Regions from separate parts of the Homo sapiens genome. Here all the other regions are linked to region 1. The links are contacts of gene promoters, found by promoter capture Hi-C in blood cells and fetal thymus (Javierre and others, 2016). All regions are on one chromosome and are shown on one strand. Each heading gives the region's core, a stretch centred on a gene start or on the middle of the fragment in contact. The rest is flanking DNA. Distances are from core to core; before and after follow the strand shown.

Evidence for each region. The method cuts DNA at HindIII sites, captures the fragments that hold promoters and counts their contacts. A CHiCAGO score of 5 or more calls a contact.
Region 2: the fragment with the promoter of SIVA1 here is called in contact with a fragment that was not itself captured in region 1 in 1 of 17 cell types (M1 macrophages); the score reaches 5.2 in M1 macrophages.
Region 3: the fragment with the promoter of ADSS1 here is called in contact with a fragment that was not itself captured in region 1 in 4 of 17 cell types (naive B cells, M1 macrophages, M0 macrophages and 1 more); the score reaches 9.6 in naive B cells.

Annotation. Positions count from the first base shown.
Region 1 is chr14:104,086,880-104,090,758 of GRCh38, reverse strand. The region is part of intron 1 of ASPG (asparaginase); the gene reads right to left. Among named protein-coding and RNA genes, the nearest start is that of ASPG, 3.1 kb to the right of the region's middle. The HindIII fragment of the contact is 178 bases long and covers 1,824-2,001 here.
Region 2 is chr14:104,750,624-104,754,502 of GRCh38, reverse strand. It overlaps SIVA1 (SIVA1 apoptosis inducing factor), which reads right to left and starts at 1,356. Exons shown (of 4, transcript NM_006427.4): 1 at 1,184-1,356. The coding sequence starts at 1,301. All of the region lies in intron 2 of LOC107987209 (a long non-coding RNA gene), which reads left to right. RefSeq lists enhancers at 1,261-1,330, 1,341-1,390, 1,036-1,537, 2,241-2,330 and a silencer at 1,491-1,860. The HindIII fragment of the contact is 19,431 bases long and covers 1-3,879 here.
Region 3 is chr14:104,722,324-104,726,202 of GRCh38, reverse strand. It overlaps ADSS1 (adenylosuccinate synthase 1), which reads right to left and starts at 1,974. Exons shown (of 13, transcript NM_152328.5): 1 at 1,741-1,974. The coding sequence starts at 1,932. INF2 (inverted formin 2) reads right to left here. Exons shown (of 23, transcript NM_022489.4): 23 at 3,668-3,879. RefSeq lists enhancers at 227-927, 3,724-3,879 and a silencer at 1,758-2,167. The HindIII fragment of the contact is 19,560 bases long and covers 1-3,879 here.

The DNA of each region.
Region 1 (3,879 bases), core at 663-3,162:
CCCTGGACAATCCAGGTGGGCCCTAAACGCCCTCTCGTGTTTCCTCACAGGTGGAAGGCCACAGGGCACGGGGAGGGGAAGGCCATATGACGACAGGGCAGAGCGGCCCTTGGAGATGCTGGCCTGGATGACTGGAGTGATGCGGCCACAAGCCAAGGATTGCAGCAGCCACCAGACACTGGAGGTGGCAGGGGTGGCTCCTCCCGCAGAGCGTCAGGACGGAGCGGTGCCCTGCAGCACCTTGGCTCAGCCCGGGGAAACCCCTCTCAGGCCTCGGCCTCCAGAACCCAGAACGAACTTCTGTGATGTTCAGCCGCCCGGCACAGTGGCCACAGGAAACAAAAAGTCACTCTCCACTCATCACGGCGGGTGAAGCTGGGGTGCCTTATGGGAAAGGTGGAGGGGGCATATCTGGTTTGGTTTTGTGGGACATGCTCACGTTGTGCAAGGTCACCTCCAGCTGCTGCTGACTCATGTGGGGGAACAGCTTCCAGAAACTTCCAGGAATGCTGCAGAGTGGTAGGCGTGGATATGGGCCCTGCTGTCCCTGCTGGGGGCATGTGTGGGCACCACAGGCGAAATCAGCCAAAGACAAGACTAAACTCTCTTGGTGTCCTCTTCTCTCAAGCAAAACACTCCATATGTGCTTTTGCAGTGGTTTTTATGGCTCACACCTGTAATCCCAGAATTTTGGGAGGCTGATGCAGGAAGATCATTTGAGCCCAGGAGTTCAAAACCAGCCTGGCCAATTTCTTTCTTTTTTCTTTTTCTTCTCCTTTCTTCCTTTTTTTTTTTTTTTTTTTTTTTTTTTGAGGCAGAGTCTCACTCTGTTGCCCAGGCTGGAGTACAGTGATGCCATCTCGACTCACTGCAACCTCCACCCACCCGGCTCAAGCAATTCTCCTGCCTTAGCCTCCCGAGTAGCCGGGATTACAGGCATGCACCACCACACCTAGCTAATTTTTTATTTTTAGTAGAGACGGGGTTTCGCCATGTTAGCAAGGCAAGTGAACCACCCGCCTTGGCCTCCCAAAGTGTTGGAATTACAGGCCTGAGCCACCATGTCTGGCCAAACGTTCCTTTTTCAAACCTATACTGTCGCCAGTAAAGTTTTCTTACCAACCTGCGAGTGGACCACTTTCCAACTCTGGGGCTCCAGCACTCACCCCGCAGTCAATGTGTTGTACGTCAGCAGCCATTCTAACAGGTATGTAGTGGCATCAGTTTTTTTTGTTTGTTTGAGACAGGGTCTCACTCTGTCACTCAGGCTGGAGTGCAGTGGCGAGATCTCGGCTCACTGCAACCTCCACCTCCTGGGTTCAAGCGATTCTCATGCCTCAGCCTCCCCAGTAGCTGGGACCACAGGCATCTGCCACCACATCTGGCTAATTTTTTTTTTGTATTTTTAGTAGAGACAGGGTTTCACCATGTTGTCCATGGCTGGTCTTGAACTCCCGATCTCAAGTGATCCACCCACCTCAGCCTCCCAAAGTGCTGGGATTACAGGTGTGAGCCACCGCGCCCAGTCAGCTGGGGCAATTTCTTTTGTTATTTTAAATAAACACCAGCTTTCAGCCGGGCACGGTGGCGGGCGCCTGTAGTCCCAGCTACTCGGGAGGCTGAGGCAGGAGAATGGTGTGAACCCGGGAGGCAGAGCTTGCAGTGAGCTGAGATCGCGCCACTGCACTCCAGTCTGGGCGACAGAGTGAGACTCCATCTCAAAAAAATAAAAATAAATAAAAAATAAACAAACACCGGCTTTCACACCTAACTATGATTTTGTAACTTGTATTACTTTTCTCAATGAGGGCCCTCCAAAAGCTTCAAGGGCTGCAGAATCTGAACCCTCCAGCCCTGCCTGGAACCTCTTCCTTGGCCCATCCAGGCAGGTGCCTGAGTTTGCTGGTGACTTGGAAACTCCTCAGCCCCCTGCCAAACACCTGGAAAGGAGGCTTTGCTCTCTAAGACAATGGGCCCCACTGTCACCAGCGAAGTCAAGCTTAGGCTTAGAAACTTGTGAACGTGTAGCACCCATTCAGGAAGGAGGTCCAGGCCAAGGGCACAGACGCCACTGCAGTAACCAAGAAGCCATGGGCATCACTCCACTGACACTCTCGACTGCTGGGACCCGTGTGGTCACCGGGCAGGGAGCTTCTCTCAGCTGCCTGGCCCCAGATCTCTGCCCTCCCTGCTGTGCCTGCAAGGAGCCGGGCTCAGGAGGGACTTTGGGACAGGCCGGCAAGCAGGTGGGGTTCCCAGTTTGACATAGGAAGTCTTCAAGTTTCTCGGGTGTACAGAACGTGGCCACTGATGCCAGCTTGGGCTTGGGGTTATCAGCCGTGTTTGGATTCGCTATGCCCCTTGACCTGTGATAGCTTCAATGAACTCAGAGAAGGGATGGGTCAAGGGGCGTCCCCACTGGCATCACCTCTGCCCTCCCTGAACTCTGGCAGGGCTCCAGGTGTGCAGCGTTCCACCCACAGGTCACTGTTTACCAGCAGGCGCAGAAGCCGTTCCAACAGCGACAATCAAACAGCTTTACTAGGGCAAAGCCACCACTCCCCTCTCACCTCCCCAGGGAAGGCCAGAGCCCACGTCAGCAGTGTGGAGGGAGTAAATCATTGACGCCTGACAGTCTGGCTGCTCCAACCTCACGAGGGGTTGGGGGAGCCCATTCCTGCAGGTTCCTGGAAGTGGATGCCCCACATGGGTCAGCTAGCAACAGCTGGGGGTGACCTCGCAGCCACACGAGGACGGGCTGCTGAGCAGAAGCCAGGACCCCAGTGCACAGAGCACCAAGGGATCTCAGAAGGCTGCTTCAGGTCTGAAGACTGACGCCCCACACCCAATTTCCAGCCTCCAAGTCTCTTGTTTCCCACCCAGACACAGGACCTCACAGCCTCTTTCAGAAATGCGGTGCACGCGTGTGAGTGCACCCACAGGCTGCTGCGGCGAGCACGCGGGGGCCAAGCGAGACGGGTGTGTGGTGGGGTTACAGAGTCCACCTGCCCCTGCAGCTCGGACCACTCAAGAACTACATGTTGAGCTCAACGAAACTGCAGTTGGCCACACTCCAAGCCTGAAGGGGTAGCGTCAGGGGCGTCGGACGAGGCCCCACACAGAGTCCCCAGGTCCTGTCCCCACTCGGGGGCAGCTCTGGCAGGCTCCGGCCCTGCTGGGCTCCCCACTCCTCTTTCCTGCACCTTGCAGGGCTGCTCCTGGCCTGGCCCTCTCCCATCTTTGTCCTGCAGGCCTTGTGTCCTCAGAGAAGCCCTCCCTGGGCTGCCTCCAAACTCCACACCATCCACACACCCAGCTCAGACCCTGTTATCAGCCCACAGCCCCTACAGGGCCCTGGCAGATCCTGCCCCTGGGACTAGCTCCTTAATGCATGCCATCCCTTCAATGGCAGCCTCTCTCTCTAGCTTGTGAGGGCCAAGCACAGGAATTGTGTCACTCTGTGTCAGTGGAGTGTCACACAGGGGCGTTTGCCAAGCTGTGAATGACTTTGTTCCATTCACAGGCAGAAGGAGAAGTGCAGAGGAGGCTCCCGGCAGCCTGGACAGCCACGTTCTTGGGGACCTGAGTCCCTCGTGGACGAGCCCCACTAGGCTTTGTCTCCTGGGCTGGGCGCAGAGTGGGCCTCCAGAGGGGTCTGCACCGGCCACAGTGTGGTGGGTGGAATCTGAGAGCACCGACAGAGTGCTGGTGGCTTCTGAGCAGCCACTTCAGCAGAAAGGGGTGGCCAGGAGGGGCAGCTGCCAGGGAACAGGCCGTGAGAGGGGGTGGGGATAGGAGGGGCGGGGAAGTGGTTGGCAGATGGGCAAGGGACAAGAGAATGTTCTGGTCATGCCAGGGGAGGCCCTGGGCTCTGGCAGA
Region 2 (3,879 bases), core at 107-2,606, 660 kb before region 1:
CATTTCCATCTTCCTCTTCTTGCCTGCACAGTGTTTGAATTTTTCAACTGTCCTGAGAGGGCACACGATTGCGGTCCTGCCACAGTTCCCACGGCATCATTCCCCTTACCTCCCCATGGCCCAGAATAGCACTCGCTTTCACAGCCCTAGCACACTGGAGACACCGCACAGAGGAACCTCGGGAGGCAGAGTCTTTCCCTCATTCCCAAGGCACAAGCGGCACCAGGTAAATCACACACCCCGGGTCATCCTCTAACTGCTCTACAGGTGCAGACTTTGTGTCCCAATCACTAGGCAAGGTAAGCTCCACTTTTTACCTGCCCCAGGGTATTAATCACCCCAGTCAGAGTGATGATCAATAAGATCAACACGCCTGAAATCCACAGGAGAAAGCCAGAGAAGGCCTGGGAGCTCACTGCCCTCACATCCCACCCAGAACTGGACACTGCAGCCACACGGAGTCCTATTTCGCTCTCCTGCTGCCTGGCTTCTGCCTCGCCCTCTTCCTTCCCTTCCTCTGCCTGGCTAACTCCTACTCGCCCCCACAGGATTCCGCTCAGACTGTTCTTCCAAGAAGCCTTCCGTGCCATCCCTGCAGGTGCGCCTGCACAAACCTGTGCCTGCCCCGACCACCTGTGGCGACTCCTCCTGCTGGTCTCCCCAACTAGGCTGGGGAGCTCCCGGGAGACGGGGCACATCTGTCTTGCCTGCCTTTGGTCTCCCGAGAAAGCCGCCGTGCCTGGCAGGGCCGCGCGCTCCATGAATACCTCTTGGGACAGGAGGGGCACTCTTCGGGTTGACTCCATGCAGGACGCCCCGCTCCCCAACCTCTCCCAGGACATCCTGCACGGGACAGTCCTGAGAAAGCACCAGGCGGGTGCCGCTCACTGCAGGGCGGCGACTAACCGGGATCGTGGAAGAGGGCGCGGGGGCTAGGGGCAGGGACCCTTTTCTTTCAGGCTGTTGGACAGGGTGGGCGAACGCTGGGGTCCTCACATCCCCCTCACTGACCCCAGCCCTGGGCGTGGCCAGCTTGTGTCCCCGCGGCCTCCCAGCTTCCGGGAACGCGGGGCCAGAAAGCAGGGCCCTCCAGCCCCCCGCTCAGGCCTCAGAGGGGACGCTGAGGCCCGGCCCGTTCCAGGCCCCGACGCAGCGGACCCTCGGCAGCCCGCCCGACACTCACCGAAGACCTCCTGCGAGTAGCGCTCGGCGCACACGCCGCGGCTCAACTCCCTCTGGCTCACGCGGACCTTGAGCTGTAGCGGGGCCACGTCCGCGAAGGGGCAGCTCCGCTTGGGCATGGCCGCGGGGCCGGGAGCTACGCAGCTCCCCGGCCGCCAGCCCCTTACCAACGACGCCGTGACGTCACAGCTGCGCGCCCATCCGCGGGCGAGAGCGGGTTTGAGGAGAGGGAGCGACGCGGCGCGTCATAGGCTGCGGGCGAAGTGGGAGGCGGGACTCCTGCGCGGAGCGGCGCGGGATAGGCCGAGGGAGAGATCGGGGGTGGGACTCGTGCGTCGGTGTACTGGACTCGACGCCGCGGGAAAGGCCAGGGGCCAGGTTGAGGATCAGGGTGGGCGGGTCCGTGGGAGAGATTTGTGCGCGCGCCGCTCAGGATAGGCGGGAGGAGAGACTAGGGGCGGGGTTCCTATGCGGCGCGAAGCGACGAAGGGTGGGAGCCAGGTCGCGGCATTCGGCTGCGCGGGAAGAGCCAGGGGGCGGGGGCGAGGCCGAGGGTCAGGACGGTGCAACGAGGGCGGAGCTTGTGCATCGGGGGCGGGCCTCGTTTGAGGATCGGCGTGGGATAGGCCAGGGCGACGTCGGGGCGGGTCTAGTTTGAGGAGCGGCGCGGGATAGGCCAGGGCAAAGTCTGGGGCGGCTGGGTCGGTGGCGGGATTCCTGTCAGCTTTTGTTTGGTTCCTAAACGGTAGACACTGGTTATAGTTCCTCATTTACTTCTCCGAAGTTAAGAGGCAGCCCGCTTCTTCCTAGCTCTTTTTTCCCCTTTAGAGACAGGGTCTCGCTCTGTCACCCAGACTGAGTGCAGTGGCAGTCTCGGCTCACTGTAGCTTGCGCCTCCCGGGCTCAGGCGATCCTCCCTTCTCGGCCTCCCCGGTAGCTGGGACCGCAGGCGCGCGCCTCCGCGCCCCGCTTTTTGGTTTTGGGTAGGAACGGGGGTTTTTCTGTGTTGCCTCAGCTGGCTTAGCTCCTCACTGTGGCGGTCTCCGCCTTCCAGAAGTAAAGGCGTGTGGGGGCTGCGCTCTGAGGGCCGCGTGCGGCTGCCGAGCGCCCCCGGGCGGGGGTATGCGCCGCTGTGTGGAAAATGTTCTTGCACAGCGGGTTCGTCTGACTTGGTGTCCCCATGCCGCGAGGTGCACCCGCGTCGTCCCTTCTCCGGGGTTCTGCTCACCAGAGGCGGCTCTCCCCTGCCCCGGCGGGTACAGAACCGACCCGTCCTGTGGCGTGGGCTTCGCCCTGTGAGAGATGACAGCGTGCTGGCAGCCCTCGCTCGCTCTCGGCGCCCACTCTGGCCGCGCTCGAGGGGCCCTTCAGCCCGCCGCTGCACTGTGGGAGCCCCTCTCTGGGCTGGCCGCGGCCGGAGCCGGCTCCCTCAGCTTGCAGGGAGGTGTGGAGGGAGAGGTGCGGGCGGGAACCCGGGCTGCACGTGGCGCTTGCGGGTCAGCGTGAGTTCCGGGTGGGCGTGGGCTCGGCGGGCCCCGCAATCGGAGCCACCGGCCCCAGGCAGTGAGGAGCTTAGCACCCGGGCCAGCAGCTGCGGAGGATGCGCCGGGTCCCCCACCAGTGCCGGCCCGCCGGCGCTGCGCTCGAATTCTCACCGGGCCTCAGCTGCCTCCCCGCGAGGCAGGGCTCAGGACCTGCAGCCCGCCATGCCTGAGTCTCCCCCCTGCCGTGGGCTCTTGCGCGGCCCCCTGCTCCGCGGCACCCGGTCCCATCGACCGCCCAAGGGCTGAGGAGTGCGGGCGCACGGCGCGGGACTGGCGGGCAGCTCCACCTGCAGCCCCGGTGTGGGATCCACTAGGTGAAGCCAGCTGGGCTCCTGAGTCTAGCGGCGACTTGGAGAACCTTTATGTCAAGCTAAGGGATTGTAAATACACCAATCAGCACTGTGTTTAGCTCAAGGTTTGTAAACTCACCAATCGGTACCCTGTGTCTAGCTCAAGGTTTGTAGATGCACCCATGGGCACTCTGTATCCAGCTAATCTGGTGGGGATTTGGAGAACCTTTATGTCTAGCTGTGGGATTGTGGACGCACCAGTCAGCACTCTGTGTTTAGCTCAAGGTTTGTAAATGTACCAATCAGCACTCTGTATCTAGCTAATCTGGTGGGGACTTGGAGAACCTTTATGTCTAGCTAAGGGACTGTAAATACACCAATCAGCACTCTGTGTCTAGCTCAAGGTTTGTAAAGACACCAATCAGCACCCTGTATCTAGCTCAAGGTTTGTAAATGCACCAATCAGTGCTCTGTGGGGACTTGGAGAACTTCTGTGTCTAGCTCAGGGATTGTAAACACACCAATCAGCGCCCTGTCAAGACGGACCAATCAGCTTTCTGTAAAACAGACCAGCCCTCTGTAAAATGGACCAATCAGCAGGATATGGGTGGGGCCAGATAAGGGAATAAAAGCAGGCCGCCCGAGCAGGCAGTGGGAACGTGTTGGTGTTCTGCCACATGTTTGGGGCTTTGCTCTTTCACTCTTTGGGTCCACACTTTTTATGAGCTGTAACACTCACTGGGAAGGTGTGTAGCTTCACTTCTGAGGCCAGCAAAGCCACAAACCCACCGGGAGGAATGAACAGCTCCAGACACACTGCCTTAAGAGCTGTAACACTCCTTGTGAAGGTCTGCAGCTCCACT
Region 3 (3,879 bases), core at 725-3,224, 640 kb before region 1:
GAGGCTGCAGGGGGACAGGTGTGGGCTCCAGGGACAAACCTCTTTTATTCCCACTCACTTGGAGAGCCAGGGGCTCCCTCAGGCTATAGGGTGGCCTGGTGGGGGTGGCCTGGCGGGGGCAGCCTGGTGGCCGGAGTGCGGGATGGGCTCCAGCCTGCTGCATCCTCCGTGCTCCCGTGTGCAGCTGCGAGTGAGCGGGGCTGTGGGGGGACTGGGTGGGGGGCACAGCAGGGAGTGCCCAGATCCAGAACCATCTCCACAGCTGGGAGCGCGGAGCCAGGTGAATGCTGTGTACAGCACCTGTGGGGGCCCCAGCCCGCCCTGCAGAAGTGCATGGCGCCCACCAGAGCTGGCAGCTCATAGGGAGGGGCCTGGGCCTCACGGGAGCAGAGAGGTCTAAGGAGGGTCAGGGGCCGGGGCTGCCCCACGCTGAGGGCGCCCTGGAGGGTGAAGAGCAGTAGAGCGCTGGACATGCCCCCTGGCGGCCCAGGACAAGGTGGCGGGGCAGAGGCAGTGTGGAGGGAGCATGGGCTGAGGACCACCTCTAGGACCTGGGGGATCTCTGGAGCGAGGGATGTGCTTGCCTGCTGCTTAGGACGGAGAGCAAGGGGGGAGGTCCCCCACTGTTCCAGGAAGAACTTTCTAGGAAGCCACAGTCCCTTCCGGCAGGAGGGGCTCGGACAGCCCTGAGCCACACAGGGTGCTGGGCTGACTCCCTTCGTCTTGGGCCCCAGCCCTCCTCTCTGGAGCTCAGGAAGGAGGCCACAGAACCCGGAGAAGGGACGGTGCGGGGGCCCTTGTTCCATTATTGGCAGCAGCCCCAGGCAGGCTCCAAACCCCAGACGCGTGCATCCCAAAGTTGACCCCTTTGTGCCTGGAGCTGTAAGTCAGCCCATGGGCAGCAGACTTGGCTGCCCTGGCATGGGGCATGTAGCCCCAGGGTGGCGGCCCGAGAGAGTGCCCAGTGTGCAGCTCAGTCAGAACAGATGGGGGCGCTGAGAGCAGCTGCCGGCTGGCAGAGGCCCAGCCCTGGGCCCTGGGGGACAAAGCAGGTCTGGCCTCCTCGGTGGCACTGCCAGCCACGGGGTCACCCTGGCCAGAAGTCTGTGGCCCTCCCTCTCCCATGTCTGGCTAGGATCGTCCCAAGCACCCTCCCTCAGGCGCGGCCCCAATTGCCCCCCAGGACGGCCTGGCCCCCTTCCACCTCTGCCTCTCCTTGGCTGACTCACCGGGGTCACCCCCACCCAGCAGGCAGCTTTTACCCCCTCCACCACCTGCAGACCTTGCGGGGAGCCAGGTAAGCCCTATCCCAGACCCAGACAGGCCCCAGGTGATCACTGTAAATGAGGAAGGGGGGTGTCTTGGGGGTCCTCAAACCATCCTGGGGCTGGGTCCTCTGGTTCCCCCATGGAGGGTCCAGCGTCACACCCATGGCATGCGCCACCCCCTAAGGATCGGGTGTCCCCAACTCAGCGACTTGTATTTATAGCTGTGCCCTGGCCCGCTGCCGGGGTGGTGGAGTAGGGGTGGGTGGAAGGAGGGCGGTGTGTGTGGGTCGGGGGTTGTGTGAGTGGTGCGTGTGCGTGCGTGGGTGGGGTGGCCCTGGGAAAGGTGCTCCCGGAAGGAAGGCATCCAAGCGGGTGAGTGACCGGCCAGGGCATGGGAGGACAGGGGCCGTCTGGGTCGGGGGAGGGGGGCTCGCTGGGCGGTGGGGGAGGGACCCGGCGCCCCAGCCCGCACCTGGCAGCGGCTGATGATGTCGGCGTCCGTGGCCAGCAGGTCCACCACCTTGCCTTTGCCCTCGTCCCCCCACTGCGCGCCCAGCACCACCGTCACGCGGGAGCCGGTCGCCGCCGCCTCCTGCTGCAGCCGCCCCCGCTTGACGCCGCCTGCGCCGGGGGGCCGGTCGTTGGAGGCTCGGGTCCCCGACATGCTGGCTTGGCTCTTCCGCTGCGCTGGCCCGGCCAGGAGCCCGCCGCCGCCGGCGTCCGCGCCATTAAATGGAGCCGGGCCGGGGCAGGGGGCGGGGCAGGGGGCGGGCCGGGGGAGGGCCAGGGCGGGCGCAGTGACGCCCCGGTGACCTCCGGCCGCCACATCCCCGCCCCCTCGCCGCTGCCCGGGAAGCCCAGTTGAGTCTCGAGCACTTTAGGGGTGAGGGGCCGCACGGACCAACGGCCAGGCAGGCAGATGGCCTGGGGAGCCGCCCCCACGAATTTGCCAACGGAGGCAGTTTCTCGCTAGCCCGTCGGGGACCAGGGCTTGTGCACCGCGACCTCACCCCCCACCAAGCCCTTGCCGGGCCCAGGACTTCGGGGTTCCAGCAACTGCAGGGGTGGTCGTTCCCTCCAGGGAAGGAGTGCGGTTTGCAAAAGGGGAGCTGCGTCCTGCACCCCACCTAGAGGGTCCGCACTCTCGAGGAGCGCACCTGCCCCCCGTGGAACCCCGAGTGCCCTGGGCGCGGGCGCGCCCCCTGGCGGCCGCGAAGAGCCGCGCAGCGCGTCCTCTCCGAGGACTTTGTGTCCCCGCAACTGCCCGCACTTCTGCCCCACGGCAGGGGCCCCGCGTCCCGCCCGGGCGCGCTGTGGCTCGGGCCTGGCTGTAGCGAGCAGGCGGGCTCCAGCATGGAGCTCCGGCCCTCAGCACCCAAGTCTGGGGTAAAGGGACCCATCCTGTCAGCGTCACCTGGCTGGCATGGGAGCAACCCCCAGGGATGCACGCCACCGTGGGGCCCAGGTTCCCAAGAGGTCCCACACCAGACCTTCCCGGCCCAGCCTGTGGAGGGACTAGGCCCCAGAGGGAGGCGATGGTCTGCGAGGCTCCCGTGTTCCCGGCTGGTTGTCCTGTCTCACCCATCCCGCCCCACCCCTCCCAAGTAGATGAGGCTTGGAGGAAGCCAGCCCTGGTGGCCAAGAGAAGGGTCCTGGGGCCCCAAGGGCGGAAAAGAGAATCAGGTTCTTGCTTCAGAGCAGGGAGGCGGGGTCCTTTGTTCCCTCCCTGACGGCTCTCAGTTGCCAAAGAGCCTGGAGCCACGAGGCCCCTTGGGCTCAGGGCAACTCCAAGGCTAGTGACAGGGAGTCCATGGAGACGGGACACTCCCTGTGAGGAAGGAGTGGAGCTTGGGCCTGTCACAGCAAAGGTCGCTCACACTGAGTTAGTGATTCAGGTGCAGCCAAGGACACCACTGCCCACCCCTGCCTGCAGCCTCCCCACCCCTCCTCTCTTGGCACCTGACCGTGCCCCAGCCTGGGGGAGAGGGGCTGTTTGAAGCCTGGCCTCCTGCCCCCTGCACCCATGTCCCCAGTCCCCTCTTCTTCCACTGGGCACATCGACACTTCCTCTCCCTCAGCATCCTTGCGGGGAAAATGCCGTTGTATGGGTTCCAAGCAGTCAGTGGGGCCTCAGTGGAAAAGCAGTCTTCATGCATGAACTTCCTAGTGCCACCTTGGGGGTGACAGCTGGTCGGGGGTGAACAGACCACCGGCCCCAGCTTGGGAAGGGGCTGGAGCAGGGTTGGAGGGCTCTGAGATTTGGCAGAACCTGGAGCCTGCTGAGAAGGGGCTGCACCTGAGGGTGGGGCAGTGGGTCTGGGGGTGTCAAGGAGGGAATTTGGGGCACAGCAGAGAGCTGTGCAGGTAGGGAAGAGGCAGACTGCAACAGGAGAAACCAAGAGCGTCATGGAGGTTTGTTTCCAGATGAGAGAAACCGACAATGTTAAATGTCCACCAGGAACCACAAAGTCCCATCAGACAAGGAGGTGCTGCCAAGGCCTGGGGGGGGCCACCAGCTCTGAGCCCTTCCTGGGGACCCCTGGGGCTCTGGGCTAGCAGATGTCAGATAGAGGCTTGGGGGACTGGGGGACATGCTAGACCACCTCACTAA